Regions from separate parts of the Homo sapiens genome. Here regions 1, 2, 3, 4, 6 and 7 are each linked to region 5. The links are contacts of gene promoters, found by promoter capture Hi-C in blood cells and fetal thymus (Javierre and others, 2016). All regions are on one chromosome and are shown on one strand. Each heading gives the region's core, a stretch centred on a gene start or on the middle of the fragment in contact. The rest is flanking DNA. Distances are from core to core; before and after follow the strand shown. Region 1 overlaps RSPH9 (radial spoke head component 9). Region 2 overlaps XPO5 (exportin 5). Region 3 has its middle 14 kb from the start of MRPS18A. Region 4 overlaps POLH (DNA polymerase eta). Region 5 holds the start of SLC29A1 (solute carrier family 29 member 1 (Augustine blood group)). Region 6 overlaps MRPS18A (mitochondrial ribosomal protein S18A). Region 7 overlaps POLH (DNA polymerase eta).

Evidence for each region. The method cuts DNA at HindIII sites, captures the fragments that hold promoters and counts their contacts. A CHiCAGO score of 5 or more calls a contact.
Region 1: a contact is called between a fragment that was not itself captured here and the fragment with the promoter of SLC29A1 in region 5, in 3 of 17 cell types (monocytes, activated CD4 T cells and naive CD8 T cells). The highest score is 7.8, in monocytes.
Region 2: a contact is called between a fragment that was not itself captured here and the fragment with the promoter of SLC29A1 in region 5, in 1 of 17 cell types (erythroblasts). The highest score is 6.0, in erythroblasts.
Region 3: a contact is called between a fragment that was not itself captured here and the fragment with the promoter of SLC29A1 in region 5, in 1 of 17 cell types (activated CD4 T cells). The highest score is 5.3, in activated CD4 T cells.
Region 4: a fragment that was not itself captured here is called in contact with the fragment with the promoter of SLC29A1 in region 5 in 1 of 17 cell types (erythroblasts); the score reaches 6.1 in erythroblasts.
Region 6: a contact is called between a fragment that was not itself captured here and the fragment with the promoter of SLC29A1 in region 5, in 2 of 17 cell types (naive B cells and M1 macrophages). The highest score is 6.3, in naive B cells.
Region 7: a fragment that was not itself captured here is called in contact with the fragment with the promoter of SLC29A1 in region 5 in 1 of 17 cell types (erythroblasts); the score reaches 5.2 in erythroblasts.

The regions. Positions count from the first base shown.
Region 1 is chr6:43,656,234-43,660,211 of GRCh38, forward strand. RSPH9 (radial spoke head component 9) reads left to right here. Exons shown (of 5, transcript NM_152732.5): 4 at 344-490. Among named protein-coding and RNA genes, the nearest start is that of RSPH9, 13 kb to the left of the region's middle. The HindIII fragment of the contact is 7,215 bases long and covers 1-3,978 here.
Region 2 is chr6:43,570,922-43,574,616 of GRCh38, forward strand. It overlaps XPO5 (exportin 5), which reads right to left. Exons shown (of 32, transcript NM_020750.3): 2 at 2,559-2,680; 3 at 1,585-1,657; 4 at 1-73. Among named protein-coding and RNA genes, the nearest start is that of XPO5, 3.3 kb to the right of the region's middle. RefSeq lists an enhancer at 395-444. The HindIII fragment of the contact is 3,844 bases long and covers 260-3,695 here.
Region 3 is chr6:43,700,255-43,703,894 of GRCh38, forward strand. No RefSeq gene overlaps it. Among named protein-coding and RNA genes, the nearest start is that of MRPS18A, 14 kb to the left of the region's middle. RefSeq lists an enhancer at 2,650-3,635 and a silencer at 2,738-2,837. The HindIII fragment of the contact is 6,909 bases long and covers 1-3,640 here.
Region 4 is chr6:43,619,837-43,623,437 of GRCh38, forward strand. It overlaps POLH (DNA polymerase eta), which reads left to right. Exons shown (of 11, transcript NM_006502.3): 11 at 1-687. It overlaps GTPBP2 (GTP binding protein 2), which reads right to left. Exons shown (of 12, transcript NM_019096.5): 10 at 2,797-2,968; 11 at 2,167-2,331; 12 at 658-1,954. The coding sequence ends at 1,778. Among named protein-coding and RNA genes, the nearest start is that of GTPBP2, 7.6 kb to the right of the region's middle. The HindIII fragment of the contact is 2,773 bases long and covers 1-2,667 here.
Region 5 is chr6:44,221,102-44,224,844 of GRCh38, forward strand. It overlaps SLC29A1 (solute carrier family 29 member 1 (Augustine blood group)), which reads left to right and starts at 2,494. Exons shown (of 13, transcript NM_001372327.1): 1 at 2,494-2,540. RefSeq lists enhancers at 2,323-3,181, 3,424-3,573 and a silencer at 2,334-2,733. The HindIII fragment of the contact is 15,932 bases long and covers 1-3,743 here.
Region 6 is chr6:43,683,587-43,687,116 of GRCh38, forward strand. All of the region lies in intron 1 of MRPS18A (mitochondrial ribosomal protein S18A), which reads right to left. Among named protein-coding and RNA genes, the nearest start is that of MRPS18A, 2.4 kb to the right of the region's middle. RefSeq lists an enhancer at 522-571. The HindIII fragment of the contact is 1,167 bases long and covers 1,091-2,257 here.
Region 7 is chr6:43,594,172-43,597,625 of GRCh38, forward strand. The region is part of intron 4 of POLH (DNA polymerase eta); the gene reads left to right. Among named protein-coding and RNA genes, the nearest start is that of POLH, 20 kb to the left of the region's middle. The HindIII fragment of the contact is 1,256 bases long and covers 1,546-2,801 here.

The DNA of each region.
Region 1 (3,978 bases), core at 235-2,734, 570 kb before region 5:
CTCTACCACGCTCGGCTAATTTTTGTATTTTTAGTAGAGACGGGGTTTTGCCATGTTGGCCAGGCTTGTCTCAAACTCCCGACCTCAGGTGATCTGCCTGCCTCGGCTTCCCAAAGTGCTGGGATTACAGGCATGAACCATCGTGCCTGGCTGGACTCTCTTTGTGGCAGGATCTGGTCCGAGTTTGGACTGAGGGAATGCTAATCCCTTTCCTTCCTTTAGCTCTCTGACAGTGGTTGACAGGGTCTTTTGTAAGCCCTACCATGTGGTCCCAGTGCAGACAGAAAGGGGGCTGGGGGGTTTTGGGCTAACCATCATTTTCCTGCCTGCCACCTCTTTCTAGGACTGTCCTTGTCTGAGGCCAAGAAGCTCAGCTCCTACTTCCATTTCAGGGAGCCTGTTGAGCTAAAGAATAAGACCTTGCTTGAGAAGGCTGACCTGGACCCCTCCCTGGATTTCATGGACTCCTTGGAGCATGACATTCCCAAAGGTAATAGTCCATTACCTGGAGGCCATGGGATCTGTCCTCAGGCCATAGCAGTGGGCCATGCCACCTGCCATTTTCCTCTGAGACTGGAACCAAGGGCCTAGTGGGAATTGGTGGTTCACCATGGGTTTTTGAGGGTGGAGCTTCCCCAGGGCCCAGCTTATAGTACACACTGATGAGTGTCCTTGAATTACAAAAGGTAGGATTGTTTTCCATATGCTTTCACAGAGAGGAGGTATCTCAATGTCTCTTGATTTTTGTAGCAATCTTGAATGGGGGCAGGTTGGGAATCTTCTCCCAAATATCCTTGAAAATACTAGCCATACTTACATCTCAACTGTTACTTTTGGGATTCTGGTATTTAGGGACTGGATATAATGCTTGGCCCATAGCTGGTGGTGCTGATCCCATTTCCTTCCCTTGAGCATCTCTGGTAGAGAAGAGCATGTCCTTGGATTCTATGACCCAATTCAGGTTCTAGGCTCTAGGCCATCGGGGGCCAGGCCCAAGGCACAGACTCAGCGCCCCACTTCTTTCTCTTCCCTTGTTGGGTGTTCCTGAGAATGAGAGGGATCTAATGATGATGATGGCAATGATAATGACAACAATAACAACTAACTCATGAAATGTGACACTGCTTATCATGTGTCAGGCACCGTACTCAGCTCTTGCCATGCCTTATCTCATTTTAATCTTCACAGCCAGCCTATTATTTTTATCCCCATTTTACAGATGAAGAAACAGGGGCTCAGAGAGTTAAACCCAAGGACACAGTAAGTGTTAAAGTGTTAGACTCCACAGTTCTGGCATGAACTGGATTGTTAAGTAAACAATAGTTTAAATGACAATAGGAACCACAGGACAATAGTCACCCACACCTCTAGGGGGAAACACTTCTGAAGAGCAGCAAGCGACCCAACTGGGGGGTATCTCAGGATGGGGATGGGGATGACAAGGGCTGTGGAATCAGACAGGCTGGGTTGGAATCCTGAATTGGCCACTTACTAGCTGTGTGACTTCATGCAAATCCCTCCATTTCCCTGTGCCTCAGTTTCCTCATTTCTAAAAAGGGGAGAATTGATATTTTCTACCTCAACGAGTTATGAGAATTAAATGGACTACTCCTATACCACCCTGAATGTGCCTAGTCTCTTCTGATCTTGGAAACTAAGCAGGGTCAGGCCTGGTGAGTATTTGGATGCAAGAATTAAATGAGTTAACTCATGCACAAAATGCTTATAACAGTGCCTAACACATAGTAAGGACTCAAATGAAAATGAACACACCAGCCGGGTGCGGTGGCTCACGCCTGTGATCCCAGCACTTTGGGAGGCCAAGGTGGGCAGATCACTGGAGGTCAGGAGTTCGAGACCAGTCTGGCCAACATGGCAAAACCCCGTCTCTACTAAAAATAGAAAAATTAGCTGGGTATGGTAGCACACGCTTGTAAACCCAGCTACTCAGGAGGCTGAGGTAGGGAGAATTGCTTGAATCTGGGAGGCAGAGGTTGCAGTGAGCTGAGATTGCGCCACTGCACTCCAGCCTGGGGCAACAGCGCAAAACTCCGTCTCAAAAAAAAAAAAAAAAAAAGAAAAAAAAAAAAAGAAACGAACATATCTCAGAGATATTGCAAATTTGGCTCCTGACCACCATAATAAAGTGAACATCGCAATAAAGTGAGTCACACATTTTTTGAAAAGTTGTGTTTGTACTATACTATAGTTTGTTAAGTATGCAATAGCATTGTGTCTAAAAATGTTAAAAAAATTAAAAATTCTTTATTTCGTAACAATACTAACGATCACCTGACCCTTCAGCGAATCATAATCTTTTTGCTGGTGGAGGGTCTTTGCTCTGTCGCCTGGGCTGGAGTGCAGTGGCGCAATCTCGGCTCACTGCAAGCTCCACCTCCCGGATTCATGCCATTTTTCCTGCCTCAGCCTCCCAAGTAGCTGGGACTACAGGCGCCCGCCACCATGCCTGGCTAATCTTTGTTTTTGTATTTTTAGTAGACGGGGTTTCACCTTGTTAGCCAGGATGGTCTCAATCTCCTGACCTTATGATCCGCCTACCTCGACCTTCCAAAGTGCTGGGATTACAGGTGTGAGCCACCATGCCCAGACATGCCCAGCTAATTTTTGTATTTTTAGTAGAGATGGGGTTTCACCACATTGGCCAGGATGGTCTCGATTTCTTGACCTCGTGATCTGCCCGCTTCAGCCTCCCAAAGTGCTGGGATTACAGGTCTGAGCCACCAAACCTGGCTTACGTAATATTCTTAATCCTTTGTTGTTCTCATTTCAACAATGTTCACAGCATCTTCACTAGGAGTGGCTTCCGTCTTAAGAAACCACTTTCTTTGCTCATCTGTAAGAAGCAACCCCTCATCCATTCAAGTTTTATCATGAGGTTGCAGCAATTCAGTCACATCTTCAGGCTACACTTCTGAATTCTAGTTCTTTTTCTTCTTCCACCACATCCGCAGTTACTTCCTCCACTGAAGTCTTTTTTTTTTTTTGGAGATGGAGTCTCGCTCTTGTAACCCAGCCTGGAGTGCAATGGTGTGATCTCGGCTCACTGCAACCTCCACCTTCTGGGTTCAAGCAATTATCCTGCCTCAGCTTACTGAATAGCTGGGATTACAAGCACCGGCCACCATGCCCGGCTTTTTTTTTTTTTTGAGACGGAGTCTCGCTCTGTCGCCCAGGCTGGAGTGCAGTGGTGCGATCTCGGCTCACTGCAAGCTCCGCCTCCCGGGTTCACGCCATTCTCCTGCCTCAGCCTCCTGAGTATCTGGGACTACAGGCGCCCGCCGCCACGGCTGGCTAATTTTTTGTATTTTTAATAGAGTTGGGGTTTCACTGTGTTAGCCAGGGTGGTCTCAATCGCCTGACCTCGTGATCCGCCTGCCTCAGCCTCCCAAAGTGCTGGGATTACAGGCGTGAGCCACCCCGCCCGGCCCATGTTCGGCTAATTTTTGTATTTCTACTTTTTACTTTTATTTTTATTTATTATTATTATTATTTTTTGAAATGGAGTCTCACTCTATCGCCCAGGCTGGAGTGCAAGTGATGTCATCTCGGCTCACTGCAAGCTCCGCCTCCCGGGTTCACGCCATTCTCCTGCCTCAGCCTCCTGAGTAGCTGGGATTACAGGTGCCTGCCACCATGCCTGGCTAATTTTAAAAATATTTTTAGTAGAGACAGGGTTTCACCAAGTTGTCCAGGCTGCTCTTGAACTCATGACCTCAGGTGATCTGCCCGCCTTGGCCTCCCAAAGTGTTGGATTACAGGCGTGAGCCACCATGCCCAGCCTGGCCTTTTTTTTTTTTTTTTTTTTTTGAGACAGAGTCTTGCTCTTTTGCTCAGGCTGGAGTGCAGTGGTGTGATCTCAGCTCACTGCAACCCCTGCCTCCTGGGTTCAAGTGATTTTCCTGCCTCAGCCTCCTAAGTAGCTGGATTACAGGCATGCGCCACGATGCCTGGCTATTT
Region 2 (3,695 bases), core at 932-3,431, 650 kb before region 5:
TGATCATTTCCACTACAATTCGAGACAGAGCATCTTTAATATGGTTCTCCTCTTCCAAAATGTTCAATGTTCCCTGAAAAAGAACAAGAGATATTAAGAGATATGCAAGACTGGATTCCAGACTTCCAGAAAAAAGCTGGGCTGTAGAGTTGTAAAAAATTTATCAGCAGGCCTACTTTTAAACCAAACAGAACAAATGAACCTGTTCTTCAGCCTGAGTCACTTGTCCTGCATTCTTGCTAATCACTCTTCCGCTTAAAGCTTAAGTGAGGGTTGCATCACCTAAAAGGCTGTCATATCGAGAGCTAGGATGACATCATTATTCTTTACAAAATGAAAAGATTCTCATATTGATTGTTTCAGTTTGCAGAAGGCCAGGGAGGAAGAGTATAGAAATAAGGAGTATAGTGAGTAGCTGGTAAAATGGAAGGGTATGAAGGGGCAAATGAATATTTTACCAATAGTTCTAACACTAGAAGACGCAGAAGTATTAGAAGATCCCATCTCTCATGTCTGTTATTTAAAAAAAACCAAGAAAGAAAAAAGGCTACAATTTTGAACATGTTTAAAGTCATATTCTGTTTTGTGTTTAAAGAGACAGTCATCCAGTCATCACACCTGTAATCTCAGCATTTTGGAAAGCCAAGGTGGGAGGATTGCTTGAGGCCAGGGGTTTGAGACCAGACTAGCCTGGGAAACACAGTGAGACCCTGTCTCTCTAAAAACCAAAAACAAAATTAGCTGGGCATGGTACCACATGCCTATAATCCCAGCTACTTGGGAGGCTAAGGCGAGAAGATCACTTGAGCCCAGGAGTTCGAGGCTGCAGTGAGCTATGATCATGCTAATGCAATCCAGCCGGAGCAACAGAGACTCTGTCTCAAAAAAAAAAAAAAGTCATATTCTAATACTTGAAACAAATTCATTCTGCATACTTAAAATTCTGCATGTTTTTCATCATTAGTATCACATAGTAGTTGTTTGGAATAAAAGAAAATAGTGTTTCAATCTAATTTAGATCTAAGAATCTTATTGATTTGTTGAAAATATTTAATCCCCTCTGCCCTGTCTTTATAATTTAAAAAATAGAAGTCAATACATAAGCATGATTAATTAAACCTAGTAAGAGACATATGCTGAATTATGCTTTCTGCTTTTGTTTTGTTTTGTTTTTGAGATAGGGTCTTGCTCTGTTGCACAGGCTGGAGTGCCATGGCACCATCACAGCTCACTGCAGCCTGGACCTCCTGGGCTCAGAAAATCCTCCCACCTCAGCCTCCTGAGTAGCTGGGCCACAGGCATGCGCCACCACGCTCAGCTAATTTTTGCATTTTTGGTAGAGATGGGGTCTCACTGCATTGCCCAAGCTGCTCTCGAATTCTTAGATGCAGGTGATCCTCTTACCTTGGCTTCCCAAAGCGCTAGAATTACAGGTGTGAGTCACTGTGCCTGGCCTAAATTATGATTTCTTGTGCTGTCTGACCTATTTAGAAGCAGTGAATTTTTACACAAACTCCCTATTGAAGAAGTCACGCTTTGCCTAAACTACCTTGGAAACATGTCTCCCAACCACCCATTCCTTACATTTGCAATCAGCTCCATGACACTGTTCTTCAGATACACCTTCTCCAATCGAGACATGCCGTTCCACCGAAACCTGACCACCAAAATGCATAAAGTCAATAGAACCACTTTAGAAGTCTTGTCTTTACAAGAGAATAGCATGGATTTCTACATTTGATTACACTGGAGATTTCATTAAGAAATTATACTTTTGATTTTGTACCTGTCAATGAATGGGCAAAAATGATCTACATTTAACCAAAATACTAACACAAAAATTCTTGGGAAAAGGTTTTATATATGCAGTGGTCCATTAACTGGAATCCGCACAAGATTTGTACCACACGTCAGCTTTGCCTCATGATTTTATTGATGGGCCAAAAGTGAATATACATCTAGGTCAACTGCAACAATGTACTTGCTTTTCAGAAAATGCAGTTTTGACATCAGTCATTTTCTGTGCTGGCTTACAAAACAATTCTGGAAAAACTATGGCTAAGTCTTAAAGGCTACCTCTTCTGATAGGTGTTGAGGGTAGGACAATCAAGTTAGGATGGGTTTTCAGTTATTCTCATACAATCCTGCTTTGGATGTACCACCCAGAGAAGGCACACAAACTCAGAAAGACAGAGAGAAAAAAGAAAGCCACAGTGCCTAATCAGAGATTCATTGACCTATACATTGCATTACTCTAAAAAGGCTTCGAGGGCTAATGACATATAGTCAGAGCTCAGTAAGTATTGGCTAAATGGCAGGTAATATTTGTTGAATGGGTAATATGTACCACACACTTTACATGGATGAAGAAACTGAAGAAAAGAAAGGTTAAATCTTGAATGAGAGCTCCTGTGAGGTTCTGATAACATCTAGGGGATCATTCCTCTCTTCTTGGAGATTGCTCTTCTCTACTCACCTAAACAGCATCTCTATAGGTTATATAAGATATAAAGATCTGTTCTCTCAGACTTCAGTGGTAATGTCCAAGAGCTCCTTACTTGACAACGTGTTCCAGGATCTGAAGGCCAAAATGTCTGACGATGGCAACTTGTGTTTTCTCAGCCAACCTCAAGCCACAGGGGACACAGATAGGACACTTTTCTTTAAACTCCTCACAAAACTGAAAGAAGAAAAGTTAGTGTTTCCTTTCGAGGGCTGAGAGAATAGGGACTAAAAGAATTTCATCTTAAGAAACTCCAACCAGGGCCGGGTGCGGTGGCTCACACCTGTCCCAGCACTCTGGGAGGCTGAGATGGGTGGACTACTTGAGTCTAGGAGTCTGAGACTAGCCTAGGCAACATGGCGAAACCCCATCTCTATTAAATATATATATATATATATATTTTTTTTTTTTTTTTTTGAGACGGAGTCTCACTCTGTCGCCCAGGCTGGAATGCAATGGCATGATCTCGGCTCACTGCAACCTCTGCTTCCCAGGTTCAAGCAGTTCTCCTGCCTCAGCCTCCTGAGCCCATGTAGCTGGGACTACAAGTGCACGCCACCACACCCAGCTAATTTTTGTATTTTTAGTAGAAACAAGGTTTCATCATGTTGACCAGGCTGGTCTTGAACTCCTGACCTCAGGTGACCCACCTGCCTTGGCCTCCCAAAGTGCTGGGATTACAGGCGTGAGCCACTGTGCCCGGCCCACTAAAAATATTTTTTTAAATTAGCCGGGCATGGTGGCAGGTGCCTGTAATCCCAGCTACTCAGGAGGCTGAAGTGGTAGGAGAATCACTTGAGCTCGAGAAATCAAGGCTGAAGTGAGCCGAGATCTCACCACTGCACGCCAGCCTGGACAACCAGAGTGAGACCCTACTCAAAAAGAAACTCCAACCTAAGCTATATGTTTAAAGTTGCAAAACCTAGATCAATATTATGTGGATCTCCAAGCACAGTTGCTTTAAAAATATATATTTAATATAAAAATAAAAATATAAAATATATAAAAGTTACACATATATAACATTTCCTCCAAGTGGTGTTCACTCTATTTTATGTGTATATATTATATATATATTATGAATAAAGAACTGATAAACATTCCTTCCAGCGTGATGGTTCCAGATTTTTTCCATGCTACGGCCAACAGTAGCCCTACTAGTGTTGGAAAAAAATGGACACAAAGGAATAAG
Region 3 (3,640 bases), core at 223-2,722, 520 kb before region 5:
TTGTGGCAAAATATGCATAAATTTTACCACCTTAACTTTTTTTTTTTGAGATGGAGTTTCACTCTTGTTGCCTAGGCTGGAGTGCAATGGCACAATCTTGGCTCACTGCAACCTCCGTCTCCCGGGTTCAAGCGATTCTCCTAACTCAGCCTCCCAAGTAGCTGGGATTACAGGCATGCACCACCACGCCTGGCTGATTTTTTGTATTTTTAGTAGAGATGGGGTTTCTCTATGGTGGTCAGGCTGGCCTTGCACTCCCAACATCAGGTGATCTGCCTGCCTTGGCCTCCCAAAGTGCTAGGATTACAGGCATGAGCCACCGCGCCCAGCCCATCTTAACCATTTTTAAATGTATAGCTCTAGTAGTATTAAATACATTCATATGGCTGGGCGCCGTGGCTCACGCCTGTAATCCCAGCACTTTGGGAGGCCAAGGTGGGTGGATCACCTGAGGTCAGGAGTTCCAGACCAGCCTGACCAACATGGTGAAATCCTGTCTCCACTAAAAATACAAAAAATTGGCTGGGTGCAGTAGCTCATGCCTTTAATTCCAGCACTTAGAGAGGCCGAGGCGGGAGGATCGCAAGGTCAAGAGATCGAGACCATCCTGGCCAACACGGTGAAACTGCGTCTCTACTAAAAATACAAAAATTAGCTGGGCGTGGTGGCACGTGCCTGTAATCCCAACTACTCAGGAGGCTGAGGCGGGAGAATTGCTTGAACCCAGGAGGCAGAGGTTGCAGTTAGCCAAGATCGTGCCACTGCACTCCAGCCTGGCAACAGAGCAAGAATCCATCTAAAAAAAAAAAAAATTAGCCGGGCGTGGTGGCGGGTGCCTGTAATCCCAGCTACTCAGGAGGCTGAGGCAGGAGAATTGCTTGAACTGGGAGGCAGAGGTTGCAGCGAGCCGAGATTGCGCCACTGCACTTCAGCCTCGGTGACACAGTGAGACTTCATCTCAAAAAAACAAACAAAACAAAACAAAACAAAAAAAATTCATATTGTTAGGCAACCATCCCCACCTTCTATCTCCAGAATTCTGTTCATCTTATAAAACTGAAACTCTGCATTAATTTACACAAATTCCCCATTCCCTCTTCTTCCCCTTTCCCTGGCACCACGCTTTCACTTTGTCTCTGGATTTGATGACTCTAGGTGCCTCATATAAGGGGAATCACTCAGTATTTGTCTCTTTGTGACTGGTTTATTTCACTTAGCATGATGTCCTCAGGTTCATCCATATTGCAGCAAGTGTCAGAATTCCCTTCCTTTTTTTTTTTTTGTTCTGAGGCAGGGTCTCACTTTGTCCCCCAGGCTGGGTGGAGTGCAGTGACATGATCTTGCTCACTGTAGCCTCCACCTCCCGGTTTCAAGTGATCCCCCTGCCTCAGCCCCCCAAGTAGCTGGGACTACAGACATGTGCCACCATGTCCGTTACTTTTTGTATTTTTTTGTAGAGATGGGGTTTCACCATGTTGCCCAGCCTGGTCTCAAATTCCTGAGCTCAAGTGATCCACCCACCTTGGCCTCCCAAAATGCTGGGATTACAGGTGTGAGCCACTGCGCCTGGCCATTCCCTTCCTTTTTAAGGTTATATTCCATTGCATGTACGAACCACATTTTGCTTATGTGCACTTGGGTTGCTTCTGCCTTTTAGCTGTTGTGAATAAGCTGCTATGAACATAGGTGTACAAACCGGCTTTCATTTTTTTATTATTAAAGCCTATTTTTTATTGATTGCTTATTATGTGCTCAGGACTGTGTAGACTTAATCATTTAATTGTCACAAGTACCTCCTAGGTGGCAACTATTCTCTCCATTTTATGAATGAAGAAATTGAGGCTCTGACAAGCCAAGTAATTTGTCCGAGGTGACGAAAGGGGAGAGCCAGAATGAGCACCTGCTCCTGTTCTTTAACCACCATTTTACTGAATTGTGTTGATGATGGACATGAAGATGAGGTCTTGGGGTATATTGCCTGCAACACCTCCCTCCCCTCTCCAACAGAAAGGGCAGACTCTTCCCCTGACCATCTGCCCAGTGAGATTGGGAGTGAATCCATCCTGCCTGGATGATTCCATCAGCAAGGGCTCTCATTCCTGGCTGCTCATCAGCATCAACCAGGGAATTAAAAGATGATGGCCTGGCCTCTCCCCGGAGTTAAACAGAACAGTTGAATTGAACTCTCTCAGGGCTGGAGCCCAGGCAGCAGCGTTTTTTAAAGGCTCCTTAAATGGTTCTATGTGCAGCCAGGGTTGAGAACCACTGGGCTAGAGGAGAGCGGAGGAAGACTACAGGAGAACTGGTTCCCTGTCCAGCCTCTTTGACTTTCCTTGTGAACTGCTCCACCGCTTTCCCAAGAGTGGCATTTGGCTATGAATGCCCTGAATCCCGTGACTCAGAACCCCTGGAGTGCCTCCCTTCTTTTCCTCCAGAGGTTCTGTTTGGGGTGTGTGAATGTGTGTGTTTGTGTGTGTGTGTGTGTGTGTGTGTGTTTGTGTGTGTGTCCCCTGTGTGACATAGGGCCCGGATGGACCTATCTGGACCAGCCAGACCCTAGAATGAAAACAAGTTGCTGACAGCCCTCAGGCCGCCAGAAATGAATTTCCGTCACCTCCCAATGAGGGGTGAGGGAACTGAGGGGGAGGGCCGGGGTCAGTGCGTCATCAGAGGGTGGGGAGAGGAGGAGGGGAGTACACAGGCCCCACAGGGCGGGGTCAGGGAAATTAGCCTCTGGGCCTGCCCCGGCTCTTTTGCCTGTGACTGTGGCACAACTCCCGTGGTGTTTTGCCCCAAGCCCCACCCATCCTGAGTCTCCCTGAGCTCTGTCTAAATCCAGGGTGGTGTCCAAGCCTGGAGAATTTCCAGGTTGGGCTCTGCCCTAAGGCATCCAGCCTGTGGAGCTGCTTGAATGGGGGCACGTTGGGATGAGGGGGATCAGTTAGCCTGTCCTGGGGATCTTCCTCCAAGCCAGCCTTGAGCCAAGACCTGTAAGATCCATGTGGGCCTAGCAGCCTGCCAGCTCAGTGCCTACAGCAACATGGAGGAAGGGGCTGGGGGTGCAGAAGAAGACCTACCTTGGGCACTGGAGGACAGAGGTTCAGCCACTGCCCTCCTGTGTGCCCCTGTGCAATCACTTCTCTCTGCGCCGTGACATCTCCATGTGCGTTAATTATAAAGGATTAAAGGATTTGGCCCAGATCCCTAGTTCCCAAATTCAGTTGCGCTTTGGAATCTTTCGGGGAGCTTTAAAAACTACCATTGACAATTTCATCCTCCAGAGATGCTGATTTAATTGGTGTAGTTTGTGGCCTGAGCATCAGGAGTTTTAGAAGATCCCCGAGTGAGTCTAATTTAAAGCCACGTTCTAGAAAACTACTTCCTAGCCACAGATACATCATGGCACCCATAGAACATGACAGTATTTGAACAACACACTGTTTCTTAGTCGCTCTGTGCCTCAGTTTCCTCATCTGTACAATGGGGATAATAATGGAACTTGCTTGGTAGGGTTGTTGTGAAGATTATATGAGCTAATGCAGAAAGGCATTGAGAAGAGCACCTGGCAAGTAGTAAAATGCTCAATAAATGTGAGCTGTTTTTATTAATTACCCTCTGGCTCTGCTCCAGATCTGGCCCA
Region 4 (3,601 bases), core at 31-2,530, 600 kb before region 5:
TACATTTTATAAAACAGCCTGAGTGGTAGGGAAGCTATCACTTTAATACTCTAGAGGCAGAATGCCACATAGGACTTTGGGTCACATATTTCTTTTCCAGGGTCTCCTCAAAATGCAGTTTCTATTTACAGTTGACTTTGGCCCCTATTTACCCATAAAATGTCAAAATCAAGTAGTATGAACATGGAAACAGGAGCAGGGACTAAGGTTTGGTCAAGTGGCCCTCATTGTTCCAAGAGTAATTTAGGCTATGTAAACTTGAAAAATATGGGACCAGATTACCTTTTGTCTCTAAATTCTACTCTTCTTTAAGTAGCTGGCACTGTATCTCTGCCAGGGCACAGAAGTGGGCTCCTTACTATTCTGACCACTAGCAAGTGGCCAACTCTTCAAATACAGGGTAGCTACCTATTTCACGTGAAAGGCCTCAGTATTCTGCTCACTTGAACTACGGAAAATAGGCCACAATACTTGGTTACAATACTGGAACTCTGAACCTATGTGGAGGAGAGAAAAACAATGGTGAACGAGATACCAGCTGGGCTCTTTCCACATTCAGGGCTCAGCAGTGTTGGGGTTTCACTTGTCTCTAATCCTGAAGAGGTATCTAGCCCTGGAAGGAAGCTGAGCCTGTAGCTAACGCATAAGCACAGTGTATTCAATAAAACATTTTTATTCTGTACAATATATATGTGTATTTAAATATATATACATATGTATATATATATATATGCACAGAGAAACCTTAGCCAACAAATCCCTGAGTCCATGGGAACCCAGGACACTAACAAAGGGAAAGGAGAGTCCATGCCTAAAGAGTAGGAAATATGGCAACATCTTTCCCTTTCCTCCTGGTTCCCTGCAACAGAGGGAAGGGAACAGTCACTACAAATTACTAAAACGAGGGTTTAGGTGGGGCAGGAAAGTGGGGTGAGAGTGGTAGGATGGGGAACTCAGATGCCACCAGTCTGGGAAAGTAAAACATTTGATCCAGCATGAAAGCCAACATGACCGCAGAGGAAAAAGACCAGACTGATGGGCATGCAGCTGGCCTTTGGTATATGCCAAGCCTTTGCTTGGTAGCCCCACGCCTGGGCCAGCACAACAAATAGCACCTGTGGGGCCTATAAGCCGGGAGGGGATGGGGGAGATAGGGACTGGGGAAATGGCCCTTGAGTGAAGGAAAGGGAGATAAAGCTGAGGAAGAGGCCTCAGGCCTCAGCACAGGGTGGCAACACTACCATTCACTGTCCCTGTGCCATTTCTTCAGACTCTGGGCCGCCACCACCACCAGATGGCCAAGAGCAGATAACCTTTTGTCCACAGCCAGGTAGAGATGGGCAACTTACATGGCCTTGAGAAGAGGTATAGAAAAAGGAGTGCTTTTGAGGGCTACCCCCTGTTGTGACCATTCCTGAAGTGCAGAGACCACACCAGCAAAACATGCCCAGTCTTAGTAGTGGGGACGAAGAATTGATGAGTGGATCCAGTCAGCTCCGGCAGACAGGCCACAGGGTTGCCAGGTTTGATGAGCCAACCAGGTGAGCACACAGCTTCGGAGCACTGCCCTGAATCCTGTCTTCTCCCTCAGGACTGCCCTTTCCTGGCCACACCAAGTTTGGCACCTCTCCAGAAAGTTGGCAGGGAGCAAGTGGCAGACAGCACCCCTCTCTCCCTAGCCTATTAACACACAGAGCCGCCAATGGCAGGGCAGCATGGCCAGAAGTCACCTTATATATTGTAGGGACAGCAATAGAACTGTCCCTGCCTGAAGGGTTCAGAAGCCCATGTTGGCCTGGGCTTCTCCTGCTGTAATGGCTTGTACATCAGTGACATGGCCGATGCCCTTGGTGACACCCTCCCGGAACAGCAGTTTGGCGCCCACCTTCAGGTACTCTGGGTGTTTCAGGAAGCGGAAACGTACCACTGCCTTCTCGCCTGTCCGCAGTTTGTCCTGCAGCAAATAAGTGGTCACTCCCCTGGCCAGTGCCTTCTGTCCCATTCTCTGCCAGCCGTGGCTCTCCACCCTCCAGAGGCCTATCAGGCCGCTACCCACCCTAAGTGGGGTTTTATTCCCATTGTGGGATCAAGGAGTTCTCTGCCAGTCTGGGGCAGGCCTCCCTCTTTTCTGACCTCTGGAGAAATGGAAGGCCAGGTCCCTCTCACCTTGGCATGGATCTTTTCCACCACTGCCGTCTGACGTACGTTGCCCACGTGTACTGTCACCTGGAATCCTCGTCGGAAGGTGGTGGCATGGAACAGTAAGACTATCTCTGCCTCAAACACCGAGCAGATGGTAGGATTCATCTCCGGGCTCACCATCACCATGCCCTGGGGAGGAACAGACCCCAGGCCCAGGAAGGGCAGCTCTAACATCAGACTCTCCCTCCCCAGCCACCCCACACCCTTTATAGCTCCTGAATTTCCTCTTCCTCTACACAACTCTAAACACAAAGACCTCAAAAGACAATAATCAAAACTCTCAGAGGGAATGAGTCTTTACCCACCTCCTACGTCCTCTAGCCCATCTAACGCTTCACATTTTTAGGGTCCTGAACACTAAAAATAGTGTTCATTAAAAACAGTGTAACATAGTGATTCATATTTAGTTATCTGTACCTCATGAGTACGTTAAGCTGTTTTTATAGTCTACGTAGCTAGACCAGAAGCTTCTTGGGTCAGAGAGTGTGTTTCCTCTGAGTTTCTCTGAAGCACCTTAGATAGGTGCTCATTCAGTAGCCAGTCTCCTAGGCACTTCTCTTAGCGTTCCCTCCCCAACCCATGCACCCACCTCACCTTGCGAAGCAGTGCACGGTCAAAGTCCCCAAGCGCCAGTGTAGCAGCCTGACCAGCTCGCAGCACACGACAGGCAGAGCGGTTGCGCTGGATGCTGCATACTCTCAGCTCCAGGAAGCAGCCATCATCCGTGGGGCCCACCACCAGCTGGTCCCCCTCACGGCAAATCCCACTGCAGCCCAGAGGGCAGGTGGCACAGTGTCAGCCAAGGTCCCCATACCTACTTCTCTATTAGGATCACCCAGAGCATTCCTTCCCTTCTAGGGTTGAGTCCCTCAAGTGGGGAAGAACCCTAAATTCTGACTTGGATGTAACAGGGCTCACTGCCAGAGTTCAGAATCAGAAGACTAATTTCATAAAAGGCCAGCAGTGATGGTGGACAGAGAGACACTTGCTGGTTTAACAACACCGAACACCTAATCACTGAAGGAGCAAGTTATCCCCTTGGGTTTCATTCTCTGCTTTGCAGAGTCTTAGGCCAGCCGCGTTGGCTCACACCTGTAATCCTAGCACTTGGGGAGGCTGAGGCAGGTGGATCACTTGAGGTCAGGAATTCAAGACCAGCCTGGCCAATATGGTGACGACCCCATCTCTACTAAAAATACAAAAATTAGCCGGGCATGGTGGTAGGCGCCTGTAATTCCAGCTACTCAAGGCTGAGGCAGGAGAATTGCTGGAACCCAGGAGGCAGAGGTTGCAGTGAGCCAAGATCGCTCCACTGCAATCCAGCCTGGGCAACAGAGCGAGACTCTGTCTCAAAAAAAAGAAAGAAAGAAAGAAAGAAGAGTCTTAAGTGACGTCTCTC
Region 5 (3,743 bases), core at 1,244-3,743:
TTGAATTCCTGGGCTCAAGTGATCCTCCCACCTCGGCCTCCAAAAGTGCTGAGATTTCAGGCATGAGCCACCACTCCTGGCCTAAAATTTATCTTGATTCATGAGTTTTTTGGCTCCCCCTTACATTTTACACCCCTGGCAAGTGCCTCACTGGCCTCTCCCTAGTCCCAGCCCTGTCACAAGGCCATGGAGATACAGTCACAAACACAACTGAGAACACAGACAGTCATGAGACATGTGCTGGTTACCAACCCCCAGGCCAAGCAAACACACTTCCAGCAAACACACATGACTTGTTGGTGACAGCTGAGAGGACACATGCCTGGGGAGAGAGAGGACTGTGTGTGAGGTGGTGAGGCATGCATGGGGCCTGCCAAGTTGGGGAGGGAGTCTGGGCCAAGCCACGGTCCCATATAGGGTGGTGAATAAGGTGTAGAGTAGAGGTGCAGCAGGACCAACCCTTCCCACCCCACCCCTTCGACAGGGACCTGAGGGAGCTCAGGGAGGGAGAGAAGCCAGAAGACCAGGCAGAGACTGAAGAGAGCTGGCAAGGCCTGGCTAGAAAAACTCCAGGCAAGGCCTGTGTAAGTTGGGGCTCCCAGGCTGTCCAGCAGGGGGCCCTGGCACCCAGCAACCTCTGCTTGGGAGGTGGCTACAGAGGGGTGTGGGTGTTGGCTAGGGGCCCAGCAGGATGGATGCCAGACGGACTTCTCTCCAACAATAACAGCCCTGGCTGTTGCCATCCACCGAGCTGGCAGGGCCCCAGTTTGGGTGGGGAGAGGAACCAGCCTTTCCCAGTCTGGCCTGAGACCCTCACCACTTCCCTCCAGTTTTCTTCCACCTCCAGCCCCCTCTGTACACAACTGCAGCCACTGGCCACCAGCCTTGCCATGCCTGGCAGATCTTCTGACCACTAGCCCTGCCACCCCCACAGACCCAGAGACCAGGAAAGGAGGGTGGGGAGCGAGGAAGGGGGCCAAGGCAGAGGGCAGAGGAGGGCTAGGAGAGGAAGAGAGAGAGACTGGACAAACATGAGGGCAGGAATTAGGGGGTTGTGGACAGACATGAAGCCACTCTCAAGTCATGGGGCTGTGCCTGGAAAAATACCACCTAAACCCATCTTCCTGCCCTCTGGTTAGGGCTGGCGGGGATGTGGGGGATGGGGGTGGGGTGGGGGAGGGTTGGGAAGGAATATGTGTGTCATCTCTGTGGGGCATGGAAACAGAAGGCTGGGGACACCCATTCTGGAGTAGCTTGGGGAGAGCCACTGACCCTAATTAGAAAAGCCACCTCTCTCCTTAGGGCCCTGTCTGTTTCTCTGGGGACAGGGTAGGACTACCTTATCCCTATGATGTGAGGTACTGCCAGTTGTTAATCAGTGTCTGTGGCTTCTCTAGGGGACAAGCCCTTCGGGTCAGTGGGCATGGGGTGGGCAGCGTGGGTTGGATTTTCTCCTCAGGACCTTTCCAGCCTTAGGATCATCCTCTAGCACTGAGTACTGCTGGAAGGGCAGGGAGTGCCCCCCACCCCACCCCATTTATTGCCCGACCAAAGAGAGGGCCTCCCTCCCCCTCCCTTGGAGGGACTTGCTGGACCACCCCTCAGCACGCCCACACCTTCCTCCTTAGCTAGTGAAAGACATACTCAGCAAGGCTTCCGCCTGTCAGGATGGCTGGGACAATAGGATTCACTGAGGATATAAGGCTGTTCCTAGCTTTTTCTCTTCCCATTCCCACCTGTGCCTCAGTTTTCCAAAGTGCTGGATTTAGAAAGGGTGAATTATGAGGGAGCTGGAGGGCTTTGCCCCACCCCCCTCCGCGCGCACACGCAAGCACAGGCAGAGGCACATACCCCCTCCAAGTCAAAGTTGTGAGTGGGGTGGTGTTTGCGCGTCTGTGGCTGGGACTGGATGTGTCAGGGATGGGAAAACCCATCATGCTGGTCACAGAAAATGCGCGGTGGGGACAGAAGCAGTTTTGAAGGAAAAGAAGAGGAGGGGGACTGAAAGAAAGAAGGGGGCGCTGAAAGGGAGGGCGCTGGGAGGAAAAAGGTGCAGTGTGGAGGAAGCGCGGCGTGGGCAGGGCTTGGGAAGGGATAACGGAATATCTGAGGTGGAGTGGGCCGTGGAGCGTCGGGGCCGGTCTGAGCAGCGGGTGTGTAAATGGAACAGTCCCGAGATGAATTTTATGGGAGTCTGCGCAGGTCCTTAATGTGTGGCTGTACCCTCCAGCCCCATGTACCCCACACGATGGACAGACAGCCTTGGTGTGGCAGGGCCCAAAGAGGTCCTATCTACCGCAATAACACGACCAGGCGGCCCTGGGGGCGCAGGGGCTCGGGGTGGGAGCGGCGGAGCGCGCGGAGTCGCCGCGGGGTGGCAGGGGTGGGCCGGGGGCGGGGCCGCGGGCGTCGGGGAGGTGGCAGTGGGCGCAGGGCGGGGCGAGCTCAGCGGAGGGCGGGTTTGAATGTGCCCCGGCGGGAGAGGGAAGCTGCAGCGAGAGCGCGCGGATCTCAGCGCGGGAGCAGTGCTTCTGCGGCAGGTGCTGCCCGGGGCCGGGGACTGGGGACTGGGGACTGCCGGGGCGGAAGACGCCGCTGCCCGCCTGCCACGGAGGGCAGGGAGGGCGGGCCTGACGGCTCCGCAGCCCGGAGAAGGGACGCCGGGTGGGGCCCCAGTGCGGAGCGTGCGGAGCCGCGCAGCACGTGGCGCGCACGGGCCAGGGAGCCTGAGGACCCTGCGGGGACCGGGACCCAAGCTGGGCGGGGCGGCCTGGCTCCCGGGCCTAAAACAGGCTGCGGTCACGTTGACCTCCGCAAGGGGCAGGCGAGTGGACGGGTGATCCCCATCGATCTGGTCGGTATCAGGGAGGGGCCGTGCCGCTGACTGCGCTGGCGGAGGGGTATGGGGATGGGGATGGGGATGGAGGCTCGCGAGCGGAGGTGCAGGCTCGCGAGCGGAGGTGCGGGGCTGTCTCTTTAACCCCGGTCTTTTACTGGCTAAACTCGTATCCCTGGCGTCTCCTTCCTGCGCACGTCTTCATTTACTGATTTACTGTGAGGGTATATGAGAGGGTGAAGACAAACAGTCCTCGGCTTTGCTTACCAGGAGAGAGCAGTCGTAGGTCAAGGCTGGCTCCAACCCTGCCCTCACACCTCTAGGGGTCTCTCTGCAGCCCTGTGGTAGTCCCTTTGCCTACTCCTCTCGGTGGCCTCCAGACCCTCCAACTTTCCTCCTGCTTGTGTAAGCTCCCCATGCCAGGATGTGTGTGATGGGGCGGGGCTGAGCTGCCTGACACTCAAGTCAGGCTGGGAATGATCTTGGTCTCCACCTCATTTTTCCCTTTAGTTGAATCAGAGTTCCCCCCACCTCCCAGTCTACAGGGCTAACTGAGAAGCAGCTTTTATACCTCTCTCCATTCCAAAAGGAGCTTGAACATTTAATATGGATTCTAGCTCCTCCACTCACCAGCTCTGTGACTTCAGGCAAGTGACTCAACCCCTCTGAACCTCAGCTGGCCCCATCTATTCAGTGCTAGTACTAGCTTATGGGTGGTTGTGAAGAAAAGACAAGAGATCTGCAGGTAGTGGCTAGCCCCATATGAAATCCTGGGAGTGGAGAATTGCAGGAGAGGTGTTGGGAGTCTGGAGGCAGGGAGGTACTCAATTTGGTGGCTACTTTCAGGGGCCCACCTCAGCAGGCCAAGGCATAGTTGGAGGGACACCAGATGCTCTGAGCTGGTATC
Region 6 (3,530 bases), core at 424-2,923, 540 kb before region 5:
GTTTAGAAAAAGATGGAATCACCCTTGTGTTCTGAGATATGGCAGTATCAAGTAAGCTAAGGGAAGAGATGAAGCAGTTTTCTAAACTGGAACTAAGGGCCAAAATCTTTCCAGATAAGCACTTCTCATACACATGAAATAATCTGTCCCCAGTGAGGCAACACATTTGCTGGGCACTTATGGACTATACAGCTTCATTCTACCTACTGTGAATTACAGTAGAATAGGAGCCACAGTCTTTGCCCTAGAGGAGGAAAAGAACTAAACTCTGCATGGGAACTTGACTATAATAAAGTCCATGCCTCGTAAAGAGGTCCTTTGAGTACTTCAGTAAATACTTGCCCAGGATGGAGTCCAAGATAACTGAATTATAACAGTGTGGAACAAATGACATTGTGGTGAGATTGCAGTGAATGCAAAAGGAGGAGATGGGGTGACACCTATAGTCTCAGCTACTCAGGAGGATCACCTGAGCTAAGGAGTTAGAGGCCAGCCTGGGCAACACAGCAAGACCTTGTCTCTTAAACAACAACAACAACAACAAACACAGAAAATGCAAAAAACCTTGATGGCCACATGAACAGACACAGTGAACTGCAGCCATGTAAAGACTCAACTGCTTAATAAAAGAGGAAGTGAAAAAAGATGAGGAGTGCAGGGCACTGCTGAAGTGCCCAGAGACCAAGGTCCCTCTTGGAGAGGATCTGTAAAAACCAGGGCCCAAGCAGAGTAGGAAAGACTGGAGTAACTGATGGCTGGGCAGTGGCCCTAATAGTCTTATGTAGGGTCAGGGAGAGGTGTGCCATGTTTGGGATGTGTGCTTGCATTTCTGGCCACTGACAACTTTTTGCAAACACCTTCCTGCCTCAAGCCCTGCTTCCTCCAGTTCATCTTTAACTCTACCATTAAAGTTTCTGGTTCCCTCATCACCTCCCCCTTTCTTTCCCTTGGACCCCTGAGGGAATGTCCCTCTGCCCTATGCTTCAGAATGAGTCGTCTTACTGCTGCACAAAAATTTCTTCCCACTAGCAGGTTACTCTGGACTATGTCCCCTGAATTCTTTAAAGACTCCAACTCACTCCTCTCTCAAAGCTTTTATATGGGACTGCCCAACCTGCCAGGCATACCCTTGTCTGAAACGTTAGGTCTTCCAGAAGGCCTTCTTAACTGACTGTGAAAGAGATGAAGCAAATTCCCTTTGGCCTTTACTCACTTCAATATACCTTTCTCTAAGTGTCTGACAAATCATGTCTTAATTTATATAATAATATGTTTGTTTTTTTATTTTAAATACATTTCCTTCACAAGGGCTCTAAGAGGGATAAGGGAGGAATGAGATCCAACACAGTCTTTGCTAAATCTGGCAGTGCCAACCATAATGGCACTAAATGGTCTTTGGCAAGTTAACTGCTAAGAGCTTTCAGGGAAGGAGGGAACAATAAGGGAGGCCCTGCCATGGAATACCAAGGTGATGTTACTGGTGGAGAGGGAAGAGGGCTGGCTCTACTTCCAACTCCATCACTTATTAGACAGGTGATGCTGGGCAAGCTATTAAACCCCTTGGAACGGCATTTCCTCATTTATAAAAATGAGGACAGTTAATATCTACCTTTAAGGTGTTTTTGAGAAGACTGAATAAATGTATGTGGAAAACCTAGCACAGTATTTGAAGCAGGCACAGTAAGTCACAATTTCTATTTTCGTCCTCCTTCAGTCTTGCTTTTCCCATAATAACCTTTTTTTGGCTTTGTGTATCTCTCTGGTCAAACTTTAAACCAGGCTTTCTCAACAGCAGCAGGACTGCCATTTTGGGCCAGATGGTTCTTTGTTGTGGGGAACTGACTTGTGCATTATGTTTAGCAGCGTCCCTCGCCTCTACCCCCCAGATGCCAGTAGTACCAGTTGTGACAACCAAAAATGTCTGCAGACATGGCCAATTGTTACTGGGGGACAAAATTGCCCCCCAGTTGAAAATCACTGTTTTAGACTGAAAGTCTTCATAGACAGGAAAATTGGTGCTCAGTCCTCAAGAGCTGACTAAAATTATGTATTATTATCTGATACTTTGAAAAGTAGGATGCCTGAATATTTTCAGCAAGAGAACCAGCTTCTTTCCCACAACTTTAAATTCTATGTGTACAATATTGTTTGGGTGTCACATATACCAGCTGAGACTAGTCAAAATTAGCTATATGTATAATACTTTATGCCTTACACATAATGCATAGACTAGCAAAAGAAAATGTTTTCATTTACAAGCTTTGAAGATAGGTGATTCTTAAGAATATAGAATATGGTAGTGCCTTCATGTAGAATCATATTAATTCAACCTAACATTTAGATGAAGGACTTCAGAGACCCATTTGATTTACAGTCCATCCTTTTTTACTTTTTTTAAAGAGGTGGGCGTTCTCACTACGTTGCCCAGGTTAGACTCCAATTTCTGGGCTCAAGTGATCCTCCCACCTTGGCCTTCCAAAGTGCTGGGATTAAAGATATGTACCACTGTACCTGGCTTACAGTCCATCATTTCACAAACTCTCCAAAGGAAAAAATTAAGTCTAACTTCAAATATTTGTTGTTAAAACAAAACGATTCCTCTTGCCTTTTTTTCTGGAAGCATAGCAAAATCTGCCTCAACTTTGAATTTCATAAGAATATGCAAATTGTAGCCAATAGTGTTTGACACTTGGTAGACTCCCCAAAATGGTATGGAGATATGCCTATTTTGCAGCATGGGAACAAATGAAACATCCAAGTCCTCTCTATCATCTGCATGATTTCTTTAGTGTCTTTATTAATGGGTCTACTAATGGATAAGTTAATCAGGCAATATCCAGACTTTTTTTTCTAGCAAATGCTCCACTTCCCTTACGGGCTAAATTCTTCAAACATACTTACTATTTCCATCTCTTCATCAACTATCTCTTTCATTTCTCCAAACTGGATTCCTTGTTTGCCACTCTATTGAAATTGCTGTTTGAAAGCTACAAAGAGACCTCTTCTGAGACAAATCCAATGGCCCCTTCATTAGGCCCTTTTTAGACTTTTCTGCTCCCTCTGACAACAATGATCACTCTTTTCCACTGGATACTTCTCAGCTTTCGTTAAAGGATATGCTGCCCAATACTATGCCAGATCCTCAAAAAACCCCACATCTCTTCTTTTGCACATCACTCATCCTTTCCTGCTTCCAGGAGTACACAAAGGAAGGCTATGTCCTAAAAGACCGTTTCACTCTCCGCCAGATTCCATCCTTTTGTGAGCCTGCTCAAGACACATCCTCTTTATGAAAACTTCCAACTGGGTTTGCCGTTTCCAGTAACTGAGTCTCCCTGTACTTCGTCACGTAAAAGGCTAACTTGCATTTATTGGAGTGTGTATATACATAATCTCATTAGAACCTAAGCTTTTCAGAAAAAGGGCTGTATTTTCTGTCTCCAGAATTCCTTCACAGCTTGAAGCATAGCACTTGGCATTCAGTAAACTCTCAGTTGATGCTCGAATCAGGCCGCTTTCCCAGATTAAGA
Region 7 (3,454 bases), core at 924-3,423, 630 kb before region 5:
ATGAAAAAAATCTAAAGCAGAGAAAATTTAGCTCTAACTGTTTAAAAAGGTCCAGAAAGTCATACAATTACAGTAAATTATTCATATTTTTGTTTCCCAAAGCTAATATATACTAGTATAAATTGTTTTAAATGATGGATGTTTTAATAGTATTTATTGTTCTTAATATGTGCAAGCCTTGGTATTTCAGGAAAACAGATAATTAAAAAAAAAGCAAAAAATGCGCAAGCCACTGTGCTGAGGAACTTTATTTTTAAAAACTACCTTTTGGCCGGGCACAGTGGCTCACGCCTGTAATCCCAGCACTTTGGGAGCCCTTGAGGTCAGGAGTTCAAGACCAGCCTGGCCAACATGGTGAAACCCCATCTCTACTAAAAATACAAAAATTATCTGGGCCTGAAGGTTCACAGCTGTAGTCCCAGCTACTCCGGAGGCTGAAGCAGGATAATTGCTTGAACCTGGGAGGTGGAGGTTGCAGTGAGCTGCACTCTAGCCTGGGCAACAGAGCAACTCCGTCTCAAAAAAAATAAAAAATAATAAACTATCTTTTAATCCTCATAACAGCTATATGAAGTGCAGTTTGTAGACAAGGAAATTGAAGCTTAGAGAATTATGTAACTTGTCCAAAGTCACATGGTCAGTAGGTTATGAAGCCAATATTTGAACCCTGCTTGACTGCAGAATGTTCTTTTAACAATTATGCTCTACTTCTTATGGCCATACATGGTGGTTTACACCTGTAATCCCATCACTTTGTGAGGCCAAGGCTGGGGGCTGGGGAGGTGGGGGGCATATGGGGGGGGATTGCTTGAGTCCAGGAGTTTGAGACCATCCTTGGTGACATGGTGAAACCCCGTCTCTACAAAAAATACAAATTAGCTGGGCGTGGTGGCATCTGCCTGTAGTCCTAGCTACTTGGGAGGCCAAGGTAGGAGGATCGCTTGAGCTCAGGAGGCAGAGAATGCCCTGCCAAAAGACAGGTTTTTTTTTTTTAGTTTTTTTTTCTTTTTTGAGGTGGAGTGTCACTCAGCTCACTGCAACCTCCGCCTCCCGGGTTCAAGTGATTCTCCTGTCTCAGCCTCCTGAGTAGCTGGGATTACAGGTGTGCACCACCACGCCTGGCTAATTTTTGTATTTGTATTTTTAGTAGAGACGGGGTTTCACCATGGTGGTCAGGCTGGTCTCAAACTCCTGACCTTGTGATCTGCCTGCCTTGGCCTCCCAAAGTGCTGAGATTACAGACGTGAACCACCGCACATGGCCCAAAAGATAGTTTTTAAAAATAAAGTTCCTTGGCCGGGCGCAGTGGCTCATGCCTATAATCCCAGCACTTTGGGAGGCCAAGGCAGGCGGATCACGAGGTCAGAAGATCAAGACTATCCTGGCTAACATGGTGAAACCCCATCCCTACTAAAAAAAATACAAAAAAATTAGCCGGGCGTGGTTGCAGGCGACTGTAGTCCCAGCTACTTGGGAGGCTGAGGCAGGAGAATGACGTGGACTCGGGAGGCTGAGGCAGGAGAATGGCGTGGACCCAGGAGGTGAAGCTTGTGGTGAGCCGAGATCGCTCCACTGCACTCCAGCATGGGCAACAGAGCGAGATTCTATCTCAAAAATAAATAATTAAATAAATAAAATAAAGTTCCTCAGCACAATGGCTTGCATGTATTTTTCTTTTTTTTTTTAAATTACCTATTTTCCTGAAACACCAAGGCTTGCACATATTAAGAACAATGAATACTATTAAAACATCCATCATTTAAAATAATGTATACTAGTATATATTAGTGAGCCAAGATCATGCCACTGCACTCCAACCTGGATGACGGAGTGTGACTCTGTCTCAAAAAATAAAACAATTATGTCTACTTCATATTACAGATAAAAGGTAAAGAACTTTAATGTGGTACTAGAAAGCTAGCTAGAATAGTTGAAGGAGAGGACTTCATAATAGATAAACTTGCCATAAGCCCTAAAGTATAGATGTGTTTAAGCAAAGGAAAGAAGAACAGAGTTAAGGGGTAAGAGCTTGCCAGGCGCGGTGGCTCAGGCCTGTAATCCCAGCACTTTGGGAGGCCAAAGCGGGCAGATCACAAGGTCAGGAGATCGAGACCATTCTGGCTGACACGGTGAAACCCCATCTCTACTAAAAATACAAAAAATTAGCTGGGCGTGGTGGCAGGCGCCTGTAGTCCCAGCTACTCGGGAGGCTGAGGCAGGAGAATGGTGTGAACCCGGCAGGCAGAGCTTGCAGTGAGGCGAGATCATGCCACTGCACTCCAGCCTGGGTGACAGAGTGAGACTTCGTCTCAAAAAAAAAAGAAAAAAGAAAAAACCTGAATAAAATAGGGTGGTGGGTTGCAGTGGATATGTGAAATATTTTAAAGTAGGTTTTGTTGACTAAATGGCTGCATAATGAGGAATGAAAGAGAAAATAAGCCAATATTAATGTGGATTTTAAGCCCTTAATAGAAATAGGGAGTTGGTTGGAAAGAACATTTGAGAAGGAAGACAAAGTTTGATTTTAGTTATGTTTAGTTGGAAACCATAATTAAAAATTCAAGAAAAGTTCTTCTGTAGGGAGTCAGGAAAAGTTCTTCTGTAGGGAGGTAGAGCTAAGGGATTAGAGTGTACATTTGGGGATAAAGATTTGTATGTACTCAGAGTAAGATATTTTCAAGGTCCTAAGTCCCAAGCAACATCTGACTTAAAACAGCTTATCAAGGGAATAAATCTAGTGCCTCGGAGTGGATTTTAAGTTACTCAGCTGGAATCCACCTCTAAAAACATGTAAATGTTAAAGCTTATATTGAAGCTTGAGTTAATTCTGAATATTTTCTAATTGAAAAAAATATTCTTGGAGAAGATGTTTAAGTGATTAAATATAGTAGGAGAAAGAAAATTCAAGAGAACTGGGGAGATAAATGTGTTTACATTATTTTTTTTTATTTTTATTATTTTTGAGATGAAGTCTTGCTCTGTCGCCCAGGCTGGAGTGCAGTGGCGCAATCTCGGCTCACTGCAACCTCCGCCTCCTGGGTTCAAGCGAATCTCCTGCCTCAGCCTCCTGAGTAGCTGTGGTTACAGGCCTGCACCACCATGCCCAGCTAGTTTTGTATTTTTAGTAGAGACGGAGTTTTGCCATGTTGGACAGGCTGGTCTTGAACTCCTGACCTCAGGTGATCCACCCGCCTTGCTCTCCCAAAATGCTGGGATTACAGGCGTGAGCCACCGTGCCTGGCCAAAAATGTGTTTTAAAATCATTGCTCATGAAAGATGATATTAATACAAAATATTTGTCGTACATTAGCACTATAAAATTCAGCCTATGCTGAAGCTAAGCTGCGGGAACACTCTGAAGGAGAAATTGAGCTCTCTTATAATTGGTCTTCTAAGCTGGCTGCCATTTTTTTGTGAAAACTTATATGTCTAAATACCTGTAATCTAAGCATTT